2 separate regions of the Homo sapiens genome follow, and region 2 is linked to region 1. Evidence: promoter capture Hi-C in human tissues and cell types (Jung and others, 2019). All regions are on one chromosome and are shown on one strand. Each heading gives the region's core, a stretch centred on a gene start or on the middle of the fragment in contact. The rest is flanking DNA. Distances are from core to core; before and after follow the strand shown.

Region 1 (5,964 bases), core at 2,161-4,660:
TCCCCTTCTCCGGAAACCCCAAAATTAGAACTGTCTTCCTGAAATAGCTGCAATTTTTGTTTCTGATAAGACAGGAGATTCAACACAAATGGATTCTTGGTCACTTACAACCTTGTTATATTTTAATAACAGGTCCTAAATAAATGGCATTTACTATGCATAAACCACTATGCTACACATATAATATTACAGATCCTCAAAATAATCTGTCAAAGTGGCTACCATCATCCCGTTTTCAAGGAAAGAAACAAGAAGCCTCACAAACTAAACCAGGATTCACATCCAGGTCTCCATGGTTCCAAAGCCACTGCTCTTCCCACTGCATGACACTTCTATTACTCAAGCTACCACTGACAGAAGTTTGTTTTGTAGCATGGAAGAGCTCAGAAGGACCACCAACTACATTATGTCTATGATTCTTCAAATATAAAATGGAATCCTAGAGAAATAATGTATTCCACCAAAAGAGAAGAATCTCTTAATTACTTTCCTCACTGTTTTTGCTTTTTGTCTGCTGTTTTCTATTTGCTACACTGAGGACTCATTTTGCCTGGCTTTTTGTCTCGTCCACCTTCTAACACCTTGGCCCATCCTCCCCCTGGATCCATCTGTGTTCCTGTTCATACTAGACAACAGCCCTATGTCCTCTCTGAAGAGGAGACCCCCAAGGACAAACACTGGCTCCCTGAGCATCAGAACTGGAGGGATCCTCTCAGAGGAGCAGGAGTCTGGGCCCAGCCCCACAAGACCCTTATAATTTGTCCAAAGACAAAGAGAAGCAGTGACAGAACCAGGACCAGAAGCCTGTCCTTATAAACCCTGATCATGAGTTCTCTGCACCACCACACAACTGTGTCTTTCCATGCCAGGACCTGCACATCAGTTCACCTTTCCTGGTCTCCAATCTCTGCCTGGAACAAGGACACTGTCCCAGAACTCAGATGAAATCTGGGAAGCATCCTCATTTCCTCATTCTCCCCCCCACAATCCAACTGGTCCGAGTCCTGTCCATTCAACCTTGTATCTCTCAGTATTTATTCTACTCATCCCCACAATGTCCTAATTTAGGCACTTTTCTCTTTCACATGGGCTTCCGCTACCACTCCTTAAAGGTCCCCCCTGTCTCTAGCTTCGTCCTCTCATTTATTCCCCACAATGGAGGCGGAGGCGGCCAGGAAGATCTAACAGGCAGATCTTATCGCGCCACTCCCTTGACAAAAACCATCAATGGTTCTCTGTAACTTCTTCCCTCACAAGAGATAGAGTCAAGAAGGGCCTTCTAAACTGGCTCAGGGGCTTGGATTTTCTCCAAGTTATAAAAAGGGAACTGATGTCTGACTAAATGTCTCTTCTGTACGAGAAACCTTATCTATGTTACTTAATTGTCTCATCGGTTTTGCAAAATTAACATATGGCCCCTTTGCAGACACTGTTCCCTCTAGTCCTCTCATCTATAACCGAGCACCTGAAATAACCTTAAAAAGCCTCTCCTGGCTCGCCAATCTTCCAACATATCCACATGCTCCCCTGTGCCACCACCTCTTGTATAGATTTCCATTACAATGTGTTTATTTAGCTATTTCCCAAATATGCCTGATAAAAGGGATCACTCACATCATTCCTCTCTGTACCCTCAGACCCCAACAAAAAAATCTGTTTCATAGTAGGTGCTCAATAAATGGTTGATGACTGGGTTATTAACTAAAAGGAGGGTCCATCATGATACAGAAATGCCTAAGCATTAAATCAATAAATACATCTCCCCCAAAGGCCCATAGAGCAGTACCAGGGACTTTTATTAATAGCATTCCTTCAGCAGCTCCACATTTCCCAAAGTGATGTGAGGTAAAGGAAGTGCTCAGACCAGGTGTCTAGTTTAAAGAGAGGAAGTCCTCTAGTGATCACCTAGGCTGACCCAAGTCTCAGTATTTCTTTCTTCAATGTTCCCTCTGCTTTGTACATACATACCCCCACAGCTGTGTTATCTTGTACATACTAGTACAGGAGAGAGCAAGGACTTTCCATTTTCCTACCCCATCACCTAGCACAATAGCTGATACATGGGTAACTACCAATCAATGTGTTAAGTGATAATATCAGCTACATTTAGTGCTATGTACAGGTATGTCCTAAGGATTTAATATGCATTATATCTCATTTACTCCTTATGACACTATCACCAGGGAGGTACTGTTCAACTTTACTCCCATTAAATAGACAAGAAAACTGAGGCCCAGAGGACAGAACAAGATCAAACAAGCATTGACTGAGGGCTTCGCACATTTTATATTTTCACGTACTTTATTTCATTTATTCCTCTGTACAATCCAGCAACTAAGCTGTGTATTATAGTCCCATTTTTAGACAAGAATTCTAAGGCCTGGAGAAACTGCACAGTAACACGCAGCTTGCAAGGCCAGGAACCAAATCCACAACTGTCGACTCCTGGGCACCTTCTCTTTTTGCCTGGCTATCTTGCCCCTCAGTGGCATCAGGACTGGACTGGTCTCTCCAGGCCCGTGCTCTTCCACACTGCACAGAGCGCTGCCCCCAGGGCAGATGGTGCAGCCTGGGCTCTAACGCCGAGGAGAAAGGAGTGCCAGTCCCACTCCATGCCTAGAGACTGCCATCCCCGCAACTGCCCAATTCCCGCGTCCGTAACACGGGTCTCTCCCGCTAAAACACACGCTTTATGACTCTGGGGGCCGCGTGGGTCTTGCAGCCAGGGCCTGGCGCAGCCCTCGCACATGACAGGGGAGGCCTAACCGTGTGTTGGGTCAACATCACCGGCACGCCGCGGCAAGGGCTCCCGGGATCGCGGCTTCGCACCCGGACTGGCTGCGGTGGGGGAGCGGGGCGCCCGCCCCAGGCCCCGCGGGGACCCACGAGCACGAGGCGGTGCCTGGGAGTCGGGAGGCCTGGGTGGCGCTCAGGCAGCCCGCGCAGGCCTCGCCCTCCGCGTCTCCAGCGAGGCGGGGGCGGCGCCTGGGTCCAGGCCGGGGCCGCCGCGGGAGTCCCGGCCGCCCTCCCCTGCCCGGGGCAGCCCCCCGGCCGGACCCGTTACCGGTTCCGCTGCTCTTTGAAGAGCGCCGTGAGCGCGCGCAGGGCCTCCAGGTCTTGGATGGGCGCCGGCACCATGACGCCCGACAGCCTGGCAGGCGGCGGCCTGGGCGCCGCCATCTTGCCGCTCACAGCTGGGTCGAGCCTGACGAGGAGGAGGAAGGCGAGGAGGACGAAGGGGGAGGATGACGAGGAGGGAGGAGTAGGATGGCGAGGAGGAAGGGGGAGGCCTCGCCCTACACAGCCCTAACCGCCGCCGCCGCTGCAGCCCGCGCTGCCCTGAAGCTGCGCCGCCGCCGGAGAGCTCTAGGCTGAGCCCAGACTCGCCTCAGGCGGGAGGAGGAGACGGCGCCGCGGGGGAGGGGGCGCCGGCGGAAGTCCCGCCTGAGGGGAGGGGGCGCGGCGGAAGTTCTGGGTGAGAGCGGGGAGGGATGCTGGGGGTGATTGACTGGGAAGCGTCGCAGACGGGGCTCCTCCGAGGGGAGGGGACGCCGGGGGGAGGGGGACCTGTGTTGATGTGGCCGTAACAGGGTCTCGGTCTTGGGAGCGGGTATCGGGAACCAGAGGTTCACCCTGAGAAAGAGGGGCGCGTCCTATAGGAGGGTGCCCGCGGACAGAGGGGTCTCCCCCAGGGGAGGGGATCCGGGGGGTAAGGGGCCTGTGGAGGGTGGGGCCGTAACAAGGTCTCGGTCTTGGGAGCGGGTATCGGGGACAGAGGTTCACCTTGAGGAAGAGGGGCCCTCCTGTGGGAGGGGGCCCGCAGACAGAGTGGTCTCCCCCAGGGGAGGACATTCTGGGTGGAGGGGACCCTCTTGGGAGGAGACGCTGACTGAGGGTCTCGGGAACGAAGGGGGCCGGGCAGAGGCTCCCACTGCTAAGGCTGAAGACCTTGATCCCACTGCTCAAGTGGGTTGATCAGTGCCCCCGCCCGGGTCCACTGGAAGCTGGAGCGGTCTGTCACTAGCTTGCAAGTCTCAGGCCCTGAAAACGCACTTCCCAGTACTTACTGATCATTGCTGATCAATACCAGACCACTTACCAGGCACTTTGCCTCTAGTGAGTATACATTGCTCCAGCTCCTCAAAGCCTTAAAATACCGTTCGAAGTCAAGAAGCTAAGTTACACAGCAATAGGGTTAGAATTGTTTTTTTTCCTAAGGGAAATGAATATATTTCACAGGAATCAGACAAGGCTTCTCTAGCTGGTGTTGATAACTCACATATTTTCTTTCCACTGCCCTTTATTACAGTGTATATACTTTCAACAAAAATTGTTGCTAAGCCCTGCGCTAGGTGCTGGAGATGTAAAGATTAATAAAAGACAGTTCCAAACCTGAAGGAACCTCACAGACTATTGAGAAGGAGAGAAGCAAACATAACTGAGTATAGTTGTGAACTGCTATAACTGTACAAATTGCTGTGGGACCACTTAAAATATATAAATACATACCCTTTACATTCTGCTTGGAGGGTAGGAGTGTGCTTATAACATGGCGCTTTTAACATTCTTTGCTAAATAAAATGTAAAGATAACAATAAACACCACCAGAGTATGCAGAAAAAGTGAATCCTGGTGGGGCATGGTGGCTCATGCCTGTAATCCCAGCACTTTGGGTGGCCAAGGCAGGAGGATTACTTGAGCCCAGGAGGTCGAGGCTGCAGTGAGCTGTGATCACACCACTGCACTCCAGCCTGGGTGGCAGAATGATACCCTGTATCAAAAAAAAAAAAAAAAAAAAAAAAAAAGGAGGGAGGGAAATGAATGCTGCTGCACAAGCAAGTTACTTGATATTGTCATTCAGTTTACCCATTTAATTGAGTATGTATTTATTCATTCCACGAATATTGCGGTGTACTATGTGCCAGGTATTAGATCACTTATTAGTAGCAGTGCTCAAGACAATGCAAAATGTTTAACACTCCTTAAGCTAACAGGGCAAAAATCTCTTAATTTTCCCTTGAGGAGCACAGGATAGTAAAATGTACTTGTTATGCACCAAAATCCTGATCTTTAGGCCAGACACGGTGGCTCATGCCTGTAATCCCAGCACTTTGGGAGGCCGAGGCGGGCAGATCACTTGAGGTCAGGAGTTCAAGATCAGTCTGGCCAACATGGCAAAACCCCCTTTCTACTAAAAATTAGCCAGGCATGGTGGCGGGTGCCTGTAGTCCCAGCCATTTGGGAGGCTGAGACAAGGGAATTGCTTGAACCTGGAAGGCACACGTTGCACTGAGCTGAGATCATACCACTGCATTCCAGCCTGGGCAACAGAGGGAGACTCTGTCTCAAACAAACAAACAAAAAAACCTGGCCTTTAGTTTTCTTATTCTCAAATGTAACATTCCCAGAAAAACATTCCCTATAATATTCATACTTCTTGCCTGGAATATTGTAATATATTCCTGATTGGTCTTTTGGCCTCTGCTCTTGCTTCCTTACGTTTTAGATCGTTTAAAAAATATTTCAACATTTAACTCTGCCCAAAACCCTCTAAGGGATTTCCATTTCACTCAGAGTAAAAGCCAAGTTCTTCCAATAGAAAAGCCCCTAAATGACCTGCCTCCTCCTTCGCCATCACCTCCAGCCCCTGTGGGCTCTAATCACATCTACTAGCCTCTTCCTCTTCCATTGTGCTTCAGCCATACTGACCTCCTTATTGTCCTCTGTCTATTTAAAAGGAATAAGCTGAGGTAAAATCAATATAAAGAGTTTATTTGGGCCAACGTGAGCATTGCAGTCCAGGACACACATCCAAGTTGCCTTGGGGAGTGCTCTGGAGAACGAAAGAGAAGCTCAACTTTTTAAAGAAAAAAGGACGAATCAGGAGAGAGGGTGATTTAAAAGGTTGTTTGTCATGAATTCTCATTGGTTTAAGAAATAATGTTGGTTAATGATTGGCTGTAC
Region 2 (5,964 bases), core at 1,244-3,743, 270 kb after region 1:
ATCACACTCTTCTTTCAGTTTACAAAGGAGGAAGCTGATGCCAGAAATACTGATTGAGTTGTGAAACTCACAGGTCCAGACAAAAGGGACCCAGGCTAATGCATGCCACTTCTTTGTTCTCATCATCATACCACTGAGCGCAAGAACACAAAATCATTTGCTGGTGTATTGGGTTATTTAAAAAGTATATTCAGAAACCCTCGCCAAATTATGCTACTTTTGGCAAGAACATTATGTCCTAATAAATAAACATTCATTAGTTAATTTGTTGGTATAGTAGTTGAGTTTATGAAAGGCCAACTTAAATACACTCCCTTTTAACTGCTGTTGAATTATACTCTTTTATAGGCAGAACGTTACCAGAGTCTCCTTGAAGAACTGAAAATGAACAAGATACAACTGCAGCTTTTTCAACTATACCATAATGAGAAAAAGATTCATCTCCTGAACACCAAGTTAGAGCATGTGAATAGGGATTTGAGTGTCAAAAGAGAGTCTTTGTCTCATCATGAAAACATAGTTAAAGCCAGGAAAAAGGAACATGGAATGCTAACTAGACAACTACAACAAACAGAAAAAGAATTAAAGTGAGTTTTTAAAAGTAGATATTAACAGTTGGGTTATATGTAGCTTGATAGAGGGAATAATATAAGTGACACTTTGAAAATTGATTTTAAAAATAAGCTTTTTACTTTGGAATACTTTTAGATATACAGAAAAATTATAAAGATAGTATAGGCCAGGTGTGGTGGCTCATGCCTGTAATCCCAGCACTTTGGGAGGCTGAGGCAGGTGGATCACGAGGTAAGGAGATCGAGACCATCCTGGCTAACACGGTGAAACCCCGTCTCTACTAAAAATACAAAAAATTAGCTGGGCATGGTGGCAGGCACCTGTAGTCCCACCTACTCGGGAGGCTGAGGCAGGAGAATGGCATGAACCTGGGAGGTGGAGCTTGCAGTGAGCCGAGATCACGCCACTACACTCCAGCCTGGGCAACAGCGTGAGACTCCATCTCAAAAAAAAAAAAGGTGGTGTAGAATGGTCCTGAAGTGGTGGTGTTTGGGGTAATACCCGAGGTTCATTGCCTCACAGCAAGGAAATCAAGGATGCAGACACACAAGGAGTGAGGTTAAGAGTGGGTTTAATAGGTGAAAGAAAGAGAAAAGCTTTCTCATGCAGAGAGAGGGGCTCCCAATTGGGTCTTCTGGTCCACAGTGAAGTACAGGCGGTTTTATAGATGAGCTTGAGGAGGCGGTGTCTGATTTAGGGCATGAAGGGTTGTTCAGATCAGGTATTCCATTTGCATAGCACGTGAAGAACCGCTTAGGACTAGATGTGCCATTTGCATAGTGCACAAAGAAGCTGGCCATCCCACCCTAATTTTTTATTATGCAGATTCTGTACCTGGCTGGCGCCATGTTTGCCAGCTTTTCTACTGTACACGTGGTGACAAAGAAAAGGGAAGATGGAGCCTTCATGTTGAACATAGCTGGCTTCTGAGTACCCCTTTTCTATTGGCTCAGCTGCCGGCATTCACTCGTGTAAGCTTCCAGCTTGCTTATGTACCCCATTTGTAGCCTAATTTTTCAGGCTCCTCTTTGTTAGAAAAGAAATGATTTTGGGGCTGCTTTTCGTTAAAAGGGAAGCTCTGCTGAGGACTCTCTTAACCTTCACTATCTGCCTAAATAATTTATTTTTAGCCCCTGTATCAGTCCCATATTCCCAACACTCAGTTTCTCCTATTATTAATATCTTACATTATTATGATACATTGTCAGAATTAATAAACTAATATTGATACATTAACTAAAGTCCATACTTTATACATATTTTCTCAGCTTTTGCCTAATGTCCTTTTTATGATCCAGAATACCATATTACATTTAGTTATATGTCTCCTTAGGCACCTTTTAGCTGTGACAGTTCTTGTTTTTGATGAACTTGACAATTTTGAGGAATATTGGTCAGTTTTTTTATAGAACATCTTTCAATCCGGATTTGTCTGATGGTTTTCACATAATTAGACTGAAGATACAGACTGTGGGGAGGAAGCCCACAGAAGTAAAATGTCCTTCTCATTATATTCTATCAGAGTGTCAGTGTATTATATATGTTACATGACATTTATCATGTACTATATCATGTGTCATATCAACATGGTATCACTGTTGATGTTGACCTTGATCACCTGACTGAAGTAGTTTTTGTCATGTTTCTCCTCTGTGAGGTTATTTTTTCTCCCTTTTCATACTATAATCTTTGAGAGGAAGTCACTATGCTTAGCCCACACTTAAGGAGTAAGGAGAGTTATGTTTTACCTTGAGGGCAAAGTATCTACATGATTTTTTTGGAATTCTGCACAGATTTGTCTCTACTTAATTATTTTAAAATTAAATTAATTGTTATTTGTTTACATCAGTATAGATTTATGGATATTTTACATTTAGAGTTATAATCCAGTATTACATTGTTGATTTTGTTGCTTAGATTGTTCCTGCTGTGGCCACTGAGAACTCTTTGAGTTGGCTCCTGTGTCCCTTTGAAATATTCTCATTACTGTGATTTTTTTTTGGAGCTCTTCCTTACTTTCTAGAAGATAAGTATCTTCTACTGTCATCTTGTATAAGCCAGTCCAAGCATCAGCTTGCCCCAGCTTGTATGAGCCTGCCCCAGGCTCTCCAAGGAACCCTGGTTCCTTTTATCGGAGAACAGTATTAGGAACCAACATCTAGGTGGTAGGTGTGTTCGTTGCTACTGGAGTGTCCTTGCTTCTAGGCTTTCTCAGCTGTTGGAACTAGGAAATACCTGTGTATACTATTTATACACATAGCTATAAATATTTTCATATGTGACCATCTATATTAAGCTAAACATGAGTTCATATTGATGTCTCCCAATTCTAAGCCATTACCACATTAATCATTCTAGCCTTCTCTTGCTTATCTGTAACCTCCCACTTCAACAATGGGAAATCTGGCTTCTACCATCTGCCATCCATTTGCTTAATTGTGCATTTCCAGTAATCACGTGTAATAGCGTCAGAATTGTTAACCCGTACCCCCATGGAAAGCATCTTTGTAACTACAGTATAGTACTTATATACAATTCTTTTGCTTTTAGTCTTACAGACTCCACTCATTTCTAGAATTAGGTCAGCATGTTTTCCTTCCACCCCTTCAGTAAGGCTGTTTCTACATTTATAATAAAGTTAGATTTTTTATTGCATTCTACATTCCATATAGGATCCCTTAGCCTCCTGAGTGATTCTTTTTTAATTTGCTTACATTAAGGTTCATCCTTGGTGCTGTAAAGTAATACAGGTTTTGGCAAATTCATAGTGTCAAGTGTCTACCACTACAGTACCACTCTCAAAAGTGACCGTGTGCTTTATTCATCCCTCCCCCTGACCTTGCTCAACCTTTGGCAACCATTGATCTGCTTACAGTCTCTGAAAGTTGATTTTTAGGATTTCTTTTTTAAAGTGGTTTGATCAAAACAACTTCTTCCCTTTATATATTAAAGAAATGAAATTTTCTTTAAAGCAAACATTTTTCCCTTTTCAGATCGGTTGAAACCCTTTTAAATCAGAAGAGGCCTCAGTACATTAAAGCCAAAGAAAACACTTCTCACCACCTTAAGAAATTAGATGTGGCTAAGAAATCAATAAAGGACAGCGAAAAACAATGTTCTAAACAGGAAGATGATATAAAAGCCCTGGAGACAGAGCTGGCTGATTTAGATGCTGCATGGAGAAGTTTTGAAAAGCAGATTGAGGAAGAAATTTTACATAAAAAGCGAGACATTGAACTGGAAGCCAGTCAGGTAAAAAAGGACAACTTAGGGGAAATCTTGTGTTTCTATTATTTCAGCTGCTTTGAATTAGAAAAAAATTTAAAAGATGACCTCTCTGATATTTTAAGAGATTATCCTCAATGTAAATTGTGGGGATTTAAATTTTTCAGCCTGTATACAGAACTAGATTTATTTATTTTTAATTTTAATTTTGTAGAGAGAGGGTCTCGCTCTGTCACTCAGGCTGGAGTGCAGTGGCATAATCATGATGCAGGATTTTTTTTTGTTTGTTTTTGAGATGGAGTTTCGCTCTTATTGCCCAGGTTGGAGTGTAATGGTGTGGTCTTGGCTCACTGCAACCTCCGCCTTATGGGTTCAAGCGATTCTCCTGCCTCAGCCTCCTGAGTAGCTGGGATTACAGGCATGCGCCACCATGCCTGGCTGATTTTGTATTTTTAGTAGAGACGGGGTTTCTCCATGTTGGTCAGGCTGGTCTCAAACTCCCGACCTCTGGTGATCCACCTGCCTTGGCCTCCCAAAGTACGGGGATTACAGGCGTGAGCCACCATGCCCGGCCGATGCAGGATTTTTCTCAGTCACTTTGTCAGCCAGAGACCCTCAGTTGGTGACGCCCTTGCTCAGGCCTTGCTTGGTCCCACGTTCACTGCAGGAGACACCCTGTCAGCCTGCCAGGCCGCACCTGGCCTGCACTCTGGCGCGAATCCCACAGCTGCCACGACTGCTCACTCAGCCCCCAGCAGAAGAGGGTGTGTGAGCGAGCAAGTTTAGTTTCCAGCCAGCTGTTCCAAGTACCGGCACAGAAGCAGGCTTCATGTGGTGCTTGGAGCTGGACCAGGTGTGTTGCAAGCCACTTCCACAGTGGGCTCTGGCGCCCAGATGAGGGGAACACAGTGGCACCCAGGCAAGGGTGCTCCTGACCCCAAAGCCCCAGAGGGGGTGTTACAGTGTGCTAATCAGCTCTTTAGTCCTGTCTGCAGCCTGAAGGATGCACGTCCGAAGGCATGTTAACAGCTCTGTCAGCCTCTTGACCCACTCTGGCCCTCAGCTCTGGGGCTTGCTCGGCCCCACCACTGCTTCCTGTCATGTGGGGCAGCTGCCCTCTGCCAGCAGAGGGCAGAGGGCCACAGTGTTTCAGCCTTCTGTGTACCCACGTTCAGTGGGTCCTCAGTTCTTGTCCTGTGTCTAAGAAGAATGAAGCTACACTGGCAATCGAAGAGTGAGGAAGGCAAAGAAGAATTTTATTGAGCTATGAAACAGCTCTCAGCAGAGAGGGGATGCAAGAGGTCATCCACTACCTGAAGTCAGGTGGTTTCTCCCCCAGTGTAGCTGGGTCTGGGGCTTTTATGGACTCAGAATGGAGGAATGTGTGCTGATTGGTTTGTGAGTATGCAAAAAAAGGCTAAAACAACGGCACCACCCTAAAGTGGGTACAACAATGTGAAAAACCAATTAGGGAAGGGTAGGTGTATGTAAAATAGGTGAAGGGTAGGGATCAATCAGAGGTAAGCACACCAAACAGCAAGAGAGTTTCTCAGTCTTGTCTGTGGATTTACCCAGCACTTGTAGCTAGGCTTTAAACTGTCTTTGGCTTGAAGGTCAGGTTTCACTGGGGACCCACCCCTGTCTGTCTAGGATTTGTCTGTCTCCTGCTGCTATCAATCATAGTTCACTGCAGTGTCACTCCTGGGCTCAATTGATCCTCCCGTCTACAGGCGCATGCTACCACACCTGTCTAATTTTTAAATTTTTTGTAGAGATGAGGTCACACTGTGTTGCCTAGGCTGGTCTCAAACTCCTGGGCTCAAGTGATCCTCTTGCCTCGGCTTCCCAAAGTGCTGGGATTACAGGCATGATCCACTGTGCCTGGCCTAAAAGACTGTTTAAAATAGAGCAACAAAAACCTCTATACTAAGGTCTCTGTCCAAAAATCTTAAAAGAGAAAGGAGAATCCAGAGAAAATGATATATTTTTTTCTACTTATATAGTTATAATTATTTTGGTATATATAGTCATAATTGTTTTGGTATTTGGTATATTTGTGATATAAGATTATCATAAAATTGATAAAAGAGATAAACGATAAAAATGTGGTTGTTTGTCGATTACATGTTTTTGCCATCTAGTGATTTATTATAATTAAATCTTGTA

What was found. The method cuts DNA at HindIII sites, captures the fragments that hold promoters and counts their contacts. A contact is called where the count stands out against the background at its distance.
Region 2: a fragment that was not itself captured here is called in contact with the fragment with the promoter of ATXN10 in region 1 in 2 of the 25 tissues and cell types used here (IMR-90 fibroblasts and aorta).

Annotation. Positions count from the first base shown.
Region 1 is chr22:45,669,280-45,675,243 of GRCh38, reverse strand. ATXN10 (ataxin 10) reads right to left here and starts at 3,410. Exons shown (of 12, transcript NM_013236.4): 1 at 3,065-3,410. The coding sequence starts at 3,180. RefSeq lists silencers at 2,778-3,107, 3,438-3,487, 3,548-3,737. The HindIII fragment of the contact is 16,564 bases long and covers 1-5,964 here.
Region 2 is chr22:45,396,956-45,402,919 of GRCh38, reverse strand. It overlaps SMC1B (structural maintenance of chromosomes 1B), which reads left to right. Exons shown (of 25, transcript NM_148674.5): 5 at 349-587; 6 at 3,567-3,825. Among named protein-coding and RNA genes, the nearest start is that of SMC1B, 14 kb to the left of the region's middle. The HindIII fragment of the contact is 7,606 bases long and covers 1-5,964 here.